Linked DNA regions of Homo sapiens: all the other regions are linked to region 2. The links are contacts of gene promoters, found by promoter capture Hi-C in human tissues and cell types (Jung and others, 2019). All regions are on one chromosome and are shown on one strand. Each heading gives the region's core, a stretch centred on a gene start or on the middle of the fragment in contact. The rest is flanking DNA. Distances are from core to core; before and after follow the strand shown. Region 1 overlaps CNNM2 (cyclin and CBS domain divalent metal cation transport mediator 2). Region 2 holds the start of CALHM2 (calcium homeostasis modulator family member 2). Region 3 overlaps SH3PXD2A (SH3 and PX domains 2A).

Region 1 (4,544 bases), core at 1,984-4,483, 420 kb after region 2:
ACTCCTGTCTCAATACAATGCAGGGCTTGTACCTTTGAGTGACATCCACATTGTTGGATATCATTTATGCAGTGAGATGGCCACCAATAACTATACATCAAAGTGACTGCAACCACAGAGATATATCCCAGTAAACTCAAACAAAGTGTATATCCACAGCTTAACTTTCCCACAGCTGAATCCCAAAAATGCTTGGGACCACTCCAACATTGCCACACACAAGAGTAAGAGAGGGTAACTCAATGTGGAAAGAGTAATTTTGGCCCACAGTAAACTTTCCGATTTTTCAAAATTTACAAATACACATAAACATGTAAAACTTGCTAGGGGTCTTCCCAGGGCCTTGGAAGCAGCCCACACATCTGAGCACTTAAGCTTTAGCTTCATTAGCTTTGTGGTAATATGCTTTTCACGATGCACTAATTGAGTAACTACAACAAAGGGAGCATAAAGCACAGACTGAAAACCCTAAAATCTACATACTCCACCATCCCAGTCTCATCTAAACCTCAGATATAAAAATATTCCATCTGTCCATCTGGTCCTCCTCCTCCTCTTGTCCAATAAGCATCTTAAGTTCAACATGTCCAAAACTAAACCTATCATCTTCTTCACAAAACCTGTTTCCCTGCTTCTAATCCTTATACTAATGACATCTGTAAAGGTCAAATGTGAAACTGTGAAAGTCAACTTAGATGCCTCTTTTCCCTCTAGTTTCATCCGGCTATGACATATTGGTACCTAACATTGTGTTAGGTTCTAAATTTAAGACTGCCTCCTAAATATCGACTTCCCCCCCTGCCAAGAGGGAGCCTCACTCTGTTGCCCAGGCTGGAGTGCAGTGGCATGATCTCAGCTCACTGCAGCCTCCGCCTCCCAGGCTCAAGCAATTCTCCCACCTCACAAGTGGCTGGGACTACAGGTGTGCCACCACGCCTGGCTAATTTTTTGTATTTTTAGTAGAGACTGGGTTTCACCGTGTTGGCCAGGCTGGTCTTGAACTCCTGACCTCAAGTGATCCACCTGCCTCGGCCTCCCAAAGTGCTGAGATTATAGGCATGAGCCACCATGTCCAGCCAATATTGATTATTTCATAGTCTCCATCCCTATCACCAGTTCACCTAAATTCCAAGTCCTCATTACTTCTAATGTACCTAACTTTAATGTAATTTCCTCAAGGCCACCTCACTGATGCCATAGTAATCTTATTAAAGACCAAATCTGAACATGTTACTCCTCTGCTTAAAATTCTTCCATAACTTCCCACTGCATTTAGGAACGTTTAAGTTCTTTGGGATGGCATTCAAAGCCCGTCATGATGGGATCCTTCTCTAGCCACATCTCCCATAGCTTTGCTCATTCCATCCAAGAGCATACATTTTCCAATTCCCCAAACTAGATATGCTATTTCACTGTTCTCTTTGCCATAAACACTGGCCTCCCCTTGGCTTCTTTACTCTTATTCTCCCTCAAATATTCAATGTAAGCATCATCTCATCTTGGAAGTCTTCCTAACCTCACCTAGACCAGCTGGGTTTGGTGCCTGTCACTGTTCCCACAAAGCCTTCATTGGCTCCATTAGGGCACTTATTACCCTGTATTAATAACTATCTCACTCTCCTCTGAGATTATTTTTTTTTTTTTTGAGACGGAGTCTTGCTCTGTCTCCCAGGCTAGAGTGCAGTGGCGTGATCTTGGCTCACTGCAACCTCCGCCTCCCAGGTTCAAGGGATTCTCCCGCCTCAGCCTCCCTAGTAGCTGGGACTACAGGCACGTGCCGCCATGCCTGGCTAATTTTTTTTTGTATTTTTAGTAGAGACGGGGTTTCATCGTGTTAGCCAGGCTGGTCTCTATCTCCTGAACCTCGTGATCCACCCGCCTCAGCCTCCCAAAGTGCTGGGATTACAGGCGTGAGCCACCGTGCCTGGCTCCTCTGAATTTTTAGTCCTCTGTGAGATTATTGAAGGAAGGGTTCTCTTTCACATCTAAAGCCTTAGAAACTAGCACAGTGTCTGGTAGATTATTTATGTATTTATTTATTTATTTTGAGACGGAGTTTTGCTCTGTCACCCAGGCTGGAGTGCAGTGGCACCATCTCAGCTCACTGCAACCTCTGCCACCTGGGTTCAAGTGATTCTCCTCAGCCTCCTGAGGAGCTGGGATTACAGGTGCTGGCCACCACGCCCGCCTATTTTTTTTTTTTTTTTTTTAAGTAGAGATGGGGTTTCGCCATGTTGGCCAAGCTGGTCTTGAACTCCTGACCAGGTGATCCACCTGCCTCAGCATCCTAAAGTACTGGGATTACAGGTGTGAGCCACCATGCCTGGCCAATACTTTTAATAAAGCTTAACTAAATAGCTCAAATTAATCTTAAGAAAATAGGAGTGGGGGCCGGGCACGGTGGCTCATGCCTGTAATCCCAGCATTTTGGGAGGCCGAGGCGGGTGGATCATTTGAGGTCAGGGGTTCAAAACCAGCCTGGCCAACATGGTGGAACCTCGTCTTTACTAAAAATACAAAAGTTAGTGGGCATGGTGGCACACGCCTATAATGCCAGCTACTTGGGAGACTGAGACATGACAATCGATTGAACCTGGTGTGCGGAGGTTGCAGTGAGCCGATATCACATCACTGCACTCCAGCCTGAGTGACACAGCGAGACTGTCTCAAAAAAAAAAAAAAGAAAAAAAAAAAAAGAAAAAGAAAAAGAAAAGAAAGAAGAAAATGGGAGGGGGATGAAGATTATGGCGGAAATGGTATTATCTCTGCAAGATCTTGTCATAAGAGGAGATTGTCTTTTTTTTCCTGGGACACAATGAAGTAAACAAGGCCAATCAGTGACTGCCAGTTGATTATAATTTTAGCAACCATTTCCCAGAGGAATGACCAACTGTTGTTACCTAATCTAAGGCCTTGTACATAAAAGACACTCATTTCCTATTTAATTGTACTGATTTTATTATTTTAACTCTTATTGGCACCAAATTCTAGAAAGGTTACAATAGAGTTTGTTCTCAGATGAAGCCCACTTGAAAAACAAGTAGAAATCAAACCCTGTGCTCCTTCCTCTGTTGTGCTTGAGAATGTCTTCAAGAATTTTCATTATCTTCTTATAAACACAAAACATGAATTCAACCTGAAAACCGAGACTCTGATACTCAAATACAATGAGTTGTCAAGTAAAAAAAGATAAGTGTTTACTGAATGACTAGATGAATAAATGAGCGAATGAATGGCCAAAAGAACTCAACATTCATTTGCTTCCGTAAAGAACCTTAGAAACAGACCATCCTTTTGAGGGACCTGGTCCTTGGTAAAAATGACAAACTGTCTTAAGCTTTCTGTGAGTACGCACTACAAATGCCTTATGGAACATCACCTCAGTTCCTGATACAATGTTCAGCAGATCTAGGCTGCTCTCGGTCACTGACCCCTCATCAAAAAAGGCACAGATTTTAAGAGCTCAAATATGTGACAGGACCCTAGGCATACTATCAGTGATTAAGAACTTTAAAATTAGACAAGTATGGGTGTAGATGCTTTGACTCTGTTACATACTACCTGTGTGACTGAGAGCAAGTCATTTACCTTCTCATGGCCTCCCACTTTGACCGTCTGTAAATGGAGATATACCCTATGTTTACTATAAAAATTGAAAAATCAAATGAAAAAACAATTTAAATAGTGCCTGGCACATAGTAAGTGCTCAATAAATGATAATGATTATATTACTGATGAACTTTCTCATGGGTTAGGAAGCTAAAAATCATCTCAAATGTACATGCATAATACCTTTTAATATCTATAGAAACAGGATCTTGGGATTATTGGAATTATACAGCTATAAGTAGCTTCTTTCAAAATATAGATTGTAGGCTTCTATCAAAGACCATCATTTGTATCACCTGAGCATTCAATCCTATGTAGGCTTATTTTGCTTTAAAGTTCAATATAGCAACTCTACAAATTGTTTGCTCAGTTTCTCAATACCAAAATTTTGCAGCTGGGTGCATCGAATGGGTTATGGAGATTGTCCTCCCTCCCCTCTCACCTCTAGAAGTAGTTGCTCCCGCTTACTGGATGAGGCAGTGGGGAGGGCGGCCCATGAAGGAAGCTTGTACAGCCACTGCCTTTGTCATATTTCCTCTGTGAAGAAACAGAAGACTTCAGTTCCTGGGATTGGTTAAGCTCTAGAATAGAGAACTAAGGAACTACTTTGTATTTTCCTAAGAATCTCATCTCTCTTTGGGCAGAGCGCCATTGCAGCCAAACTGCTACACATTCTTTTTGCATCTTTGTCAGGAAACTGGAATGATAATAAACACAGGTAGCTTGTAATACACAATAAATTGAAGGAAGTTGGCACAGAGCAGAGAAAGACTCAAAGACTGAGGGAATGAGAAGGGGAAAAGCCAATGAAATAATAAATTATGTGCAATGGCCATACCAACCTTGACATTTTTAAAGATATTGCAAAGGTTTCCATGTTTATGATTAGAATTCACTTGAGGTCAATATGGCCAGTCATGAATTCATTCAACAAG
Region 2 (4,094 bases), core at 1,595-4,094:
CTCCAACCCCCAAACCAGGTGGAAAAAGGAAGGGTTTCAGTGCTGGGCAGTACTCCCCTAGGCAGATCCACACTCCCTAGCACTCGCCTGCCCATTGGAGGCAGGAAATTTGGAGCTGGAAGGGGATCTGATGCCTTCAGGTGTGACACTGCCCTGGATGGCCCTAGGGCAGTGGGCCCATGAGCAGTATTAGTCTAAAGGGGTCGGAACTGTCATGGCAGGTACAGGGACCAATGGCTCCCCTCTGCCCAGCCCTTCCCAGGCTGATGTTCACTGTCTCCTCCCAGGTTCAACAGACATCCCTGCCCCAGGGTCCACCCTCGTCTGTGGCTGTTCAGTACCTCTCTTCCTTTATGCTCCGGGCTCGGGGAGTGGGAATCATCAGGCGTCTCATGAAGTGGGAGCCCTCTGATTTGGGCAAGCGTGTCGTAGGTGAGACTGGGTGTGCCGGGGCAGGTCCATAAGGACATGACACACAGCCTACCTGGTGTGACACACCTGGGGTGACAGGCGATGAGACAAGATGTCAGAAGCTAGGTTCACATGGAAGAGGTCAGAGTGTGTGGTCACCATGGGGGTCATGTGACAATTGTCCAGGTGGACTGCATGTTTATTTAGCACAAACCAAGCACAAAAGTCCTCCTGTAGAGGGGTCTTTGAAAAACCACCTTAATACCCCCGTCACATCCAGGTCTCCAGGGGAAATCAGACCATCCCCAAGGCTTGAGAAGTTAGACACAGAAGCTGAAGTCTCTCCATTTTTCTCAAAGACCCCACCTCTTGGGGATGGAGTTCTAAGAGGCTAAGAGGAGCTCCAAGGCTCTAGCCCAGGTGGGATGAGGGTGGAGGAGAGCAGTGTAAAGAGAAAGCAGCTCAGATTCCAGAGTGAGACAGAACTGGGTCAAATGGTGTCTCTACCACTCACAAACCCTGTCCCTGGGCCAGCTGCATCACTGCCTGTGCCTTCGTTTCTTCATCTATACAATGAGGATGAGGCCCCCCCGGCCCGCCATCATGGGGTTGCTGTGTGTAAAAGCACATGGCACATAGTAGGCACCCAGCACAGGGTGGCTAATGTATTTGTTGATTTCTGAACCTAAGGACTTCCTTCCTCCTCCCCTGGGCAGGGATGAGACAGCAACACAAACACTCGAGCTTCCATCTTGTTGAGGAGGAAACAGAGGTACAGATAGGTTTCTCAGCACCGCCCTCAGCTCTGAGACATAAGTCCCAAGCATCTAAGGATTCATTTTGATCTTGGCATGATTCCATCCTTTTTTATCCATCCTTCCCTCTATTCCCACTTCTGGGGTCCAGTTTCCCTCCTCTTAATTATTTGGGAGGAGTTGCTCAGATCTTTGTGGGCCAAGGTGGGCTGGGAGGGCTCTTCCAGGAGGTAGGAGTTGGTATGGGCCCTGAAGTCAGGGAGGATTAGGATGAGCAAAAAACAAGGTGTATGTTGGTGGGTGGCAGCACTTCCAGTGGGAAGAGAAGGCCCGGAGGTATCAGGAGGTACAAATGTGATGAAGAGCAAAGCTTTGGGTCAGGCACACCTGAGTTCAAATACCAGCACTGCAGGACTTGTGGCCAGTCACCCAGCCACTCTAAGCCTCAGTGTGTCTGTCTATAAAATGGATATTAGAAGACCTGCTTGGCCAGGCGGAGTGGCTCATGCCTGTAATCCCAGCACTTGGGAGGCCAAGGAGGGAGGATCACTTGAGCCTGGGAGTTGGAGACCAGCCTGGGCAACATAGCAAGACTCTGTCTCTGTAAAGTAATAATAATAATAAGAAGAAGAAGAAGAATAAAGAGAAGATTTATAATTTTTTTAAAATGAAAAAATTATTTTTTAAAAAAGACCTGATTTTCAGGATTGTGGTAAGGATAGAGGAAGATAACTTTTAGGGAAGGATCTGGGACTGTGTTTAGCACATGCTGGGATCTGAAACAAACAAATAAACAAGCAGAACTTGGTACCTTTTCTTTCCTTCGTACATATGGTCAAGCCCAGCTCAGGGAGGCCAGCGGGTCACTCGGCAGCTCCACCATGACGGAACCACGAGCACTGCAGAGCTGACAGATGTCGGGGGTCCTCTCCCTCCATGCTAAGGGTCATCTAGCCTGTCCGTAGACTCTCCTGTGCAGCATTCCTGACCCGTGACGCTTCAGCCCGCATCTTGACCACTTTTAGATACAGGCTGGGCAGCTCTGATTATTACACAGGGCTTCCTTCAGAAACCTGCCTCCTTGTAACTTTCACCCACCAGTTGGAGCTCTGCCTGCAGGACCCGGAGAATCCCTAGGCTCCTGAATTCAATCCTCAGCCCTCCAGGGATCCGAAGCAGGTCCCGGGGAGTTAGCTGACTATAGGTCAAAGAGTCAGCATTGGGGATGGTTTGTCCAGTCAATGGACAACTCTGAGGGAGAAGGGCCAGTAGAGGGTGGGGCCCTGGCCCTGAGCATCCTGCAGGGCTCAGCGCGGGCCTGACGACACCCTCCCTTGACCCTCGCGGGGTCTCCTTTGGTAGCTTCTGCCCAGCGGGGGTCAAGTACGTGGGGTGCTCTTGAAACTGTCATGGGGGGCAGGTCTGGGTCAGATCTCCCCAATGCCTCCACATCCCCACGTGGCCCTCCCGACTGGTCCCATTGGTGTGGAGCATGGCCCGGTCCGGGTCTGGGCCGAGGGCGGAGGGCCAGCACGGCCCAGGGACGGCGAGCAGCGGGTCGGTGGGACGCGCAGCAGCTGCAGAACAGGCATCTCAACTTCCTCTCGGCTCCTCTCCTCTCGCGCCGCCCTCGGGGCCCGCCCTCCTCTGCCTGGTGGCGCCGGGAGGCTGTTTTTCCACTCACTGGCGCGCAGACTCCATCCCACTGTTTTCTTCTCTCTTTTCTGGAGTTAGATTAGTCTGAAGCCGCCACCAGCCCCAGGCCCCCGTGCAGAAGAAAAGCGGGAGGGAACGGCGGAGGCCGCCGCTGCCCTGCACCGCCCTCCTGGAGGCCACTTGGAGAGTCCGGCCCCGAGGAGGCCATGGCCACAAGTGCCCACAGCTGGCCCCAGGTAAGGAAGGGGCCCTCCCTGGGGTGTGCCAGGTGTCAGCGGAGCATGGTGGGGCCTGTCCCACGCTGCCCAGAGGGAGAGAGGCCCCTAGCTGAGGTTCCCTCCACCCGGTTGAACAGGGAGCAGTCCTGCCCCTCCCCGAGCCGCCAGTCTCCTGTCGTCACTGATGTTGGAGGAGGTCCCACTGGGGGTCTGGATGTGACCCATCCTTGGCCTGGGGGCAGTGGTCTCAGAAGATGGCCTGGCCCATCCTCTGCTCACCACCCACCCTGTGCAGGTATCTTGTACCCCACTTTGAGCCAGTTTATGAACCCAGGGCCTCCACAGGGAGCTAATTAGGAGCCTAGAAGCCAAGAAGGGAAAAGGATGGGGCAAAGGGGGCTGACTTTAACCCATTCTTCCCCAGCAGTGATGCAAACTGCCTTTCCCAGGAAGTTAGGCTGGAAGCTCCAGGCTGTGAAGTGGGGGAAGAATCAGACTCCTCCTCCTCCTCCTCCTCCTCCTCCTCCTCCTGTTGTTCCTCCTGGTCCTCCTCCTCCAGCTTCTCCTTTTCTTGGAGTCTGCATGGCCACATGGCTCTGCCTGAGCCCATCTGGCAGCCTTCCTTGGCAGGGACAGAAGGGGTGATCTAGAAGGGGTGATCCCTCCATGAAGCATGGAAGGGAACAGGGCTAGGTCTGTGTTTGGCGCTCACCCCATCCCTCCACTCCCTGGCTTCCTCTGGCCTGGGGAGTTTTGTTTTTCACCCTCCAGAGGGGGAGGACATGGGGCCACACCCTGGCCTGTCTCTCAGGCTTGTGTGGGTGGAGGCTGGGAAGGGAGTTGGGCTAAACTTCGCTGTTGCCCGAGGCCATGGCCACTTCCCGGCAGGTTGCCAGCGTCGCTACAGCCCAGACCAAGGCAGAATAATCTCCGGATGAGCTGGTGGCACCGCTGAGCCTTTGGTCTCACCAGGGCTTCCTGTTGCTGGCAGGCGGGGTGGAGCGGAGCTGCTGGGAGGCTGCTGGATAGGAGAGGGGTCACGGCTGCGGAAGAG
Region 3 (4,288 bases), core at 302-2,801, 390 kb before region 2:
CCGTGAGATCTTCCACATGTCACCTCCCCCTTCTAGAACTACATTTGCCCATCTAGAAAATGGTGCAACTGTTTCTTTTCAGGCTTGCCTTGCAGAGCGGAGGGCAGGTATAACAGCTGCTTTGGAAAGCACTGAGCCCAGAGATGATAGCTGTGTGAGGAGGTCCCTTGATCCCCCAGTCTGGGTTCTTAATTATCTAGGGCAGGGATGCTATACAAAGTGAGTTGTTCCTGACCCCAGGGAATTTTTAAACAAGGTTCACCTGCCCAGCCACCTCTCCTGAGAAGCCTCATAGACAGAGTCGACTCAGGAGTACTTAGGCTCTTAGTGAAGATCTCTTCTAGAAAACGGCCTCTGGTTTTCCTTCTTTCCAAACCAATCATTTTTTTGTGAACAGGAAAAGACAGAGTTATTCCCAGTCCCATCTCTCCCTGCTGTTACCTGAGCGGAGGAAGTGATATCTAAGTGGCTGAGTTAGCAAAGGGGAAACAGCTGTGGTTTCTGCCACTCCACTGGGCTGCTTTCTCTGTCCCTGTGCTGTCATTTCCCTTTGGCTGGCGAGGAAGCCACCCTCCCCAAGCCTGGGCGGAGGCCCATGGCTGGGTCGGGGTAGACTCTGTGTGTGTGTGTCAATGCAGCATAAATTATGCAGTGGGGCGGGTGGGACAATTTAGCCTGTTTCTGGGATCCCTGGAGCATGAACTTTAGACCTGTTGGAAACTGATCACTCTTACCTGATCTGACCACAACTTCAGGGAGTCAGGAATGGAAGTAATGCCCCATGTTGAGAATGAACTTGCAGGGTGTACCAGGTGGGGTAGGGATTGATGGAGTGTGGGCTGGTTTGCACTTTTGCCTATCACTGTGTGGTCCCTGATGGAGAACCTACGTTGTTTTCCTTTTTTGAGGCGTACTCTCACTAAAGGAGACCTTGGCACGTATTGTATCACCATCATCATCATAGAGCTGTTACAGGAAAGGGGTCCCGATCCAGACCCCCAGAGAGGGTTCTTGGATCTCCAGCAAGAAAGAATTCAGGGCAAGTCCATAGAGTAAAGTGAAGGCAAGTTTATTAAGAAAGTAAAGGAATAAAAGAATGGCTGCTCCATAGACAGAGCAGCCCCGAGGGCCACTGGTTACCCATTTTTATGGTTATTTCCTGATGATATGCTAAACCAGGGGTGTATTATTCATGCTTCCTCTTGTGAGACCATATAGGGTAACTTCCTGACATTGCCATGGCATTTGTAAACTGTCATGGTGCTGGTGGGAGTATAGCAGTCAGGATGACCAGAGGTCACTCTCGTTGCCATCTTGGTTTTGGTGGGTTTTAGCCGTCTTCTTTACTGCATGCTGTTTTCCCTTTTTTTCTTTTTCTTTTTCTTTTTTCTTTTTTTTTTTTTTTGAGATGAAGTCTCGCTCTGTCGTCCAGGCTGGAGTGCAGAGGCGCAATCTTGGCTCACTGCAACGTCCACTTCCTGGGTTCAAGTGATTCTCGTGCCTCGGCTTCCCGAGTAGCTGGTATTACAGGCGCACACCACCATGCCCGGCTAATTTTTTGTTTTTTTTTTTTTGGTGGAGATGGGGTTTCACAGTGTTGGCCAGGCTGATCTCGAACTCCTGACCTCAGGTGATCTGCCTGGCTCAGCCTCCCAAAGTTCTGGGATTACAGGTGTGAGCCACCACGCCCAGCCTACTGCATACTATTTTATCAGCAAGGTCTTTATGACCTGTATCTTCTGCTGACCTCCTGTCTCATTCTGTGACTTAGAATGGCTAAACATCTGGGAATGCAGCCCAGTAGGTTTCAGCCTTGTTTTACCCAGCCCTTATTCAAGATGGAGTTGCTCTGGTTCACATGCCTCTGACACAGCTACCACATATTGAATTCCCATTTTGTGCCAGGCATTGCATGGCCTTTGATTTATAACCTCTGGCCCCAGGGTGGCCATGAAGGTATGCATTTTTAACCCCATTTGACTCATATGGAACCTGAGGTTTGGAGAGTGCAGGTAGCATTGTTAAGAAAGCACAAACCCAGGCAGATGTGACCTCCCTCCCCTTCCCCAGCCTGCGCCTGGTTCTACACCATCACTGTGTCTTACACACTTGGTCCCTTTTCAGGGCACCCAGGGCTACAGGGGCTTCTGTGAGAAGGTGCTCCTCATGGGGAACTTGCCCTGGTTGCTTTTGCCCATCTAAGTGTTCAGAGCATATAGGGATTGTCCCTGTCCTTTGAAGTGACTGCTTTGTAAACTCTTTCATGATAGGCCCAATTCTGACCCAGCGTTATCCCATTTCCTGATGGCCCAGACCCAAAAGGCTATTTTAAGGGACTTGCCTGTGTGGGAGAATTTCTCTCTGTAACAACAGAGGAGGAGGCCTGGCCGGCCTGGCATGGGGCTGGCAGTGGAGCTCCGAGAGGGTGAAACTCTGTCCTGAATTCTGCCTCCTGGGCTGGAACAGATTAGTTGAGCCCTCAGCGCAGTGCCTGGCACCCAGAAGGGATAGAATCACTTCTTGATGAGTGTGAGATTCCCAGAGGTGGCAGCCCAGGGATTTCTGCTGGTCAGAGCCTCAGTGGGCTGGCAAACTGATGCTTCTCTTGCAGAGTTAAGGTCCGTAATAGAACAATGTCTGCACTTTGGTCTCAAGCTGGGATTAATTACTGACTTTAGTCATCACTCATTGGCAACTTGAAGCAAGCAGCCTCATGTTTTTTGTTATTTCTGAACGTGGCAGCTCCCAGGCAGGGGAAGTGGGGATGTCAGGTTAGAGAATGTATGGGTGGAGTCCATTTTAGATGCAGGCACTTGTCTCATTTAATCCCCACAGCAAACCCTGGTCATCATCTGTGTTTTATAGGGGAGGAAACTGAGGCTCAGGGAGGTGCAGCATCTTGCCCCATCACTGGCAGCAACAGTGGGAGCCAGGGTTGCATCCCAGATCTCTTCAGGAACAAAGCCCGACGGCTTTATCTGACAGCTTCCCTAGGGGATGGGGAGCTAGGGAGCTCGTCACATAGGTCCTGGATAAAACCCCAAAGGGCTGAATTAAACCCCAGGTCACCTGCCCATGTGACCCTCCCTCTGAGCCCCTCCCTGAAAACATGATGTGGTTGGAGCGGATGTTAAGATATGATAACAAGCTTGCTATAGGAACAGATCTGTGCCAAGGTCTGGCCTCTATTTGCAGGTTCAAATTTGTATTCCCCTTGAACTCTTGCCCAGGGCCACTTTTGAAGGCCTGGCCCTTCAGAGGGTTCAGCTGCCAGTCTCCACATCCTCCTCTTGGGGATGGTGGATAGCATGGCACTGTGGTAGGGAGCATGGAGGAGTTTAAGTTCCTGGTATTTTCAGCCCCATGCTTGCTTAGGCAAAACCAGGCTCTGGAAACCAGAGTAAGCACTAAGAGAGGGACTTGGGTGCCAGCAGTTGGAAGTTGAGGGCAAGAGGATAGGGGCAGAGCATCGGCAGCTGCTGTCATGGGCTGTGGCTCTGAAGCTGGCTATGAATCACAGCCCTGCCACTCATTAGCTTGTTTCACTTGGCCAAGTTTCTTCACCTCCTGGGCCTCAGTTTCCTAAGTAAAATGGGTATAATAATACTACTACCTAACCCATATGGTTGTTACTCATATGATAACTGTTCCATAAACGGCACTATTGCTATCACCAGCGTTATCATCCTTCTTGATTTTGCTCAGTTTCTGCCATCTCCTGGAAGCTTCCCTGACCTCTCATCTTAAAATGACATTTCCAGTCTACGAATTTTTATAATGTTAACTGTTTTACCTCTCATTTAACACTTACCAAGAATGACCTTGGATTGTTCAGCCTTTGGCAAGCTGATACTTACTCATATTCATTCATTCATTGTTTCATTCAGTCAATATTTGAATGTTTACTATGTGTCAAGCGCTGGGAACACAGCAGGGCAGATAAAAATCCCTGCCCGTTTAGAGCTTACATTCTGGTGTGGGAAAGGAAACAATAAACAAACAAATGACACCCTGTCATTTGCAGCAACGTGGATGGAACTGGAGGTCATTATGTTAAGTGAAATAAGCCAGGTGCGGAAAGACGGAAAGACGAATATTGCTGTCCTCACTCATAGGTGAGAGCTAAAAAGAGTAGATCTCACAGAGGTAGTGAAGAGTAGAATGGCGGCTACCAGAGGCCAGGTGGGAGGAATAAAGAGAGGTTGATTAATGAATACAAAAATACAGTTGGGTAGAAATAATACGTTTTAGTATTTGATAGTACAGTAAGGAAATTGTAGTTAACAAT

The links. The method cuts DNA at HindIII sites, captures the fragments that hold promoters and counts their contacts. A contact is called where the count stands out against the background at its distance.
Region 1: a contact is called between a fragment that was not itself captured here and the fragment with the promoter of CALHM2 in region 2, in 1 of the 25 tissues and cell types used here (spleen).
Region 3: a fragment that was not itself captured here is called in contact with the fragment with the promoter of CALHM2 in region 2 in 1 of the 25 tissues and cell types used here (mesenchymal stem cells).

Annotation. Positions count from the first base shown.
Region 1 is chr10:103,026,967-103,031,510 of GRCh38, reverse strand. The region is part of intron 1 of CNNM2 (cyclin and CBS domain divalent metal cation transport mediator 2); the gene reads right to left. Among named protein-coding and RNA genes, the nearest start is that of CNNM2, 110 kb to the right of the region's middle. The HindIII fragment of the contact is 3,746 bases long and covers 1,361-4,544 here.
Region 2 is chr10:103,451,120-103,455,213 of GRCh38, reverse strand. CALHM2 (calcium homeostasis modulator family member 2) reads left to right here and starts at 2,844. Exons shown (of 4, transcript NM_015916.5): 1 at 2,844-3,058; 2 at 3,929-4,094. It overlaps CALHM1 (calcium homeostasis modulator 1), which reads left to right. Exons shown (of 2, transcript NM_001001412.4): 2 at 1-1,974. LOC124902494 (a long non-coding RNA gene) reads right to left here and starts at 2,771. Exons shown (of 2, transcript XR_007062275.1): 1 at 1,978-2,771. RefSeq lists a silencer at 2,443-2,772 and enhancers at 2,611-3,232, 3,233-3,853, 3,802-4,094. The HindIII fragment of the contact is 12,335 bases long and covers 286-4,094 here.
Region 3 is chr10:103,842,448-103,846,735 of GRCh38, reverse strand. All of the region lies in intron 1 of SH3PXD2A (SH3 and PX domains 2A), which reads left to right. Among named protein-coding and RNA genes, the nearest start is that of SH3PXD2A, 11 kb to the left of the region's middle. The HindIII fragment of the contact is 7,884 bases long and covers 1-4,288 here.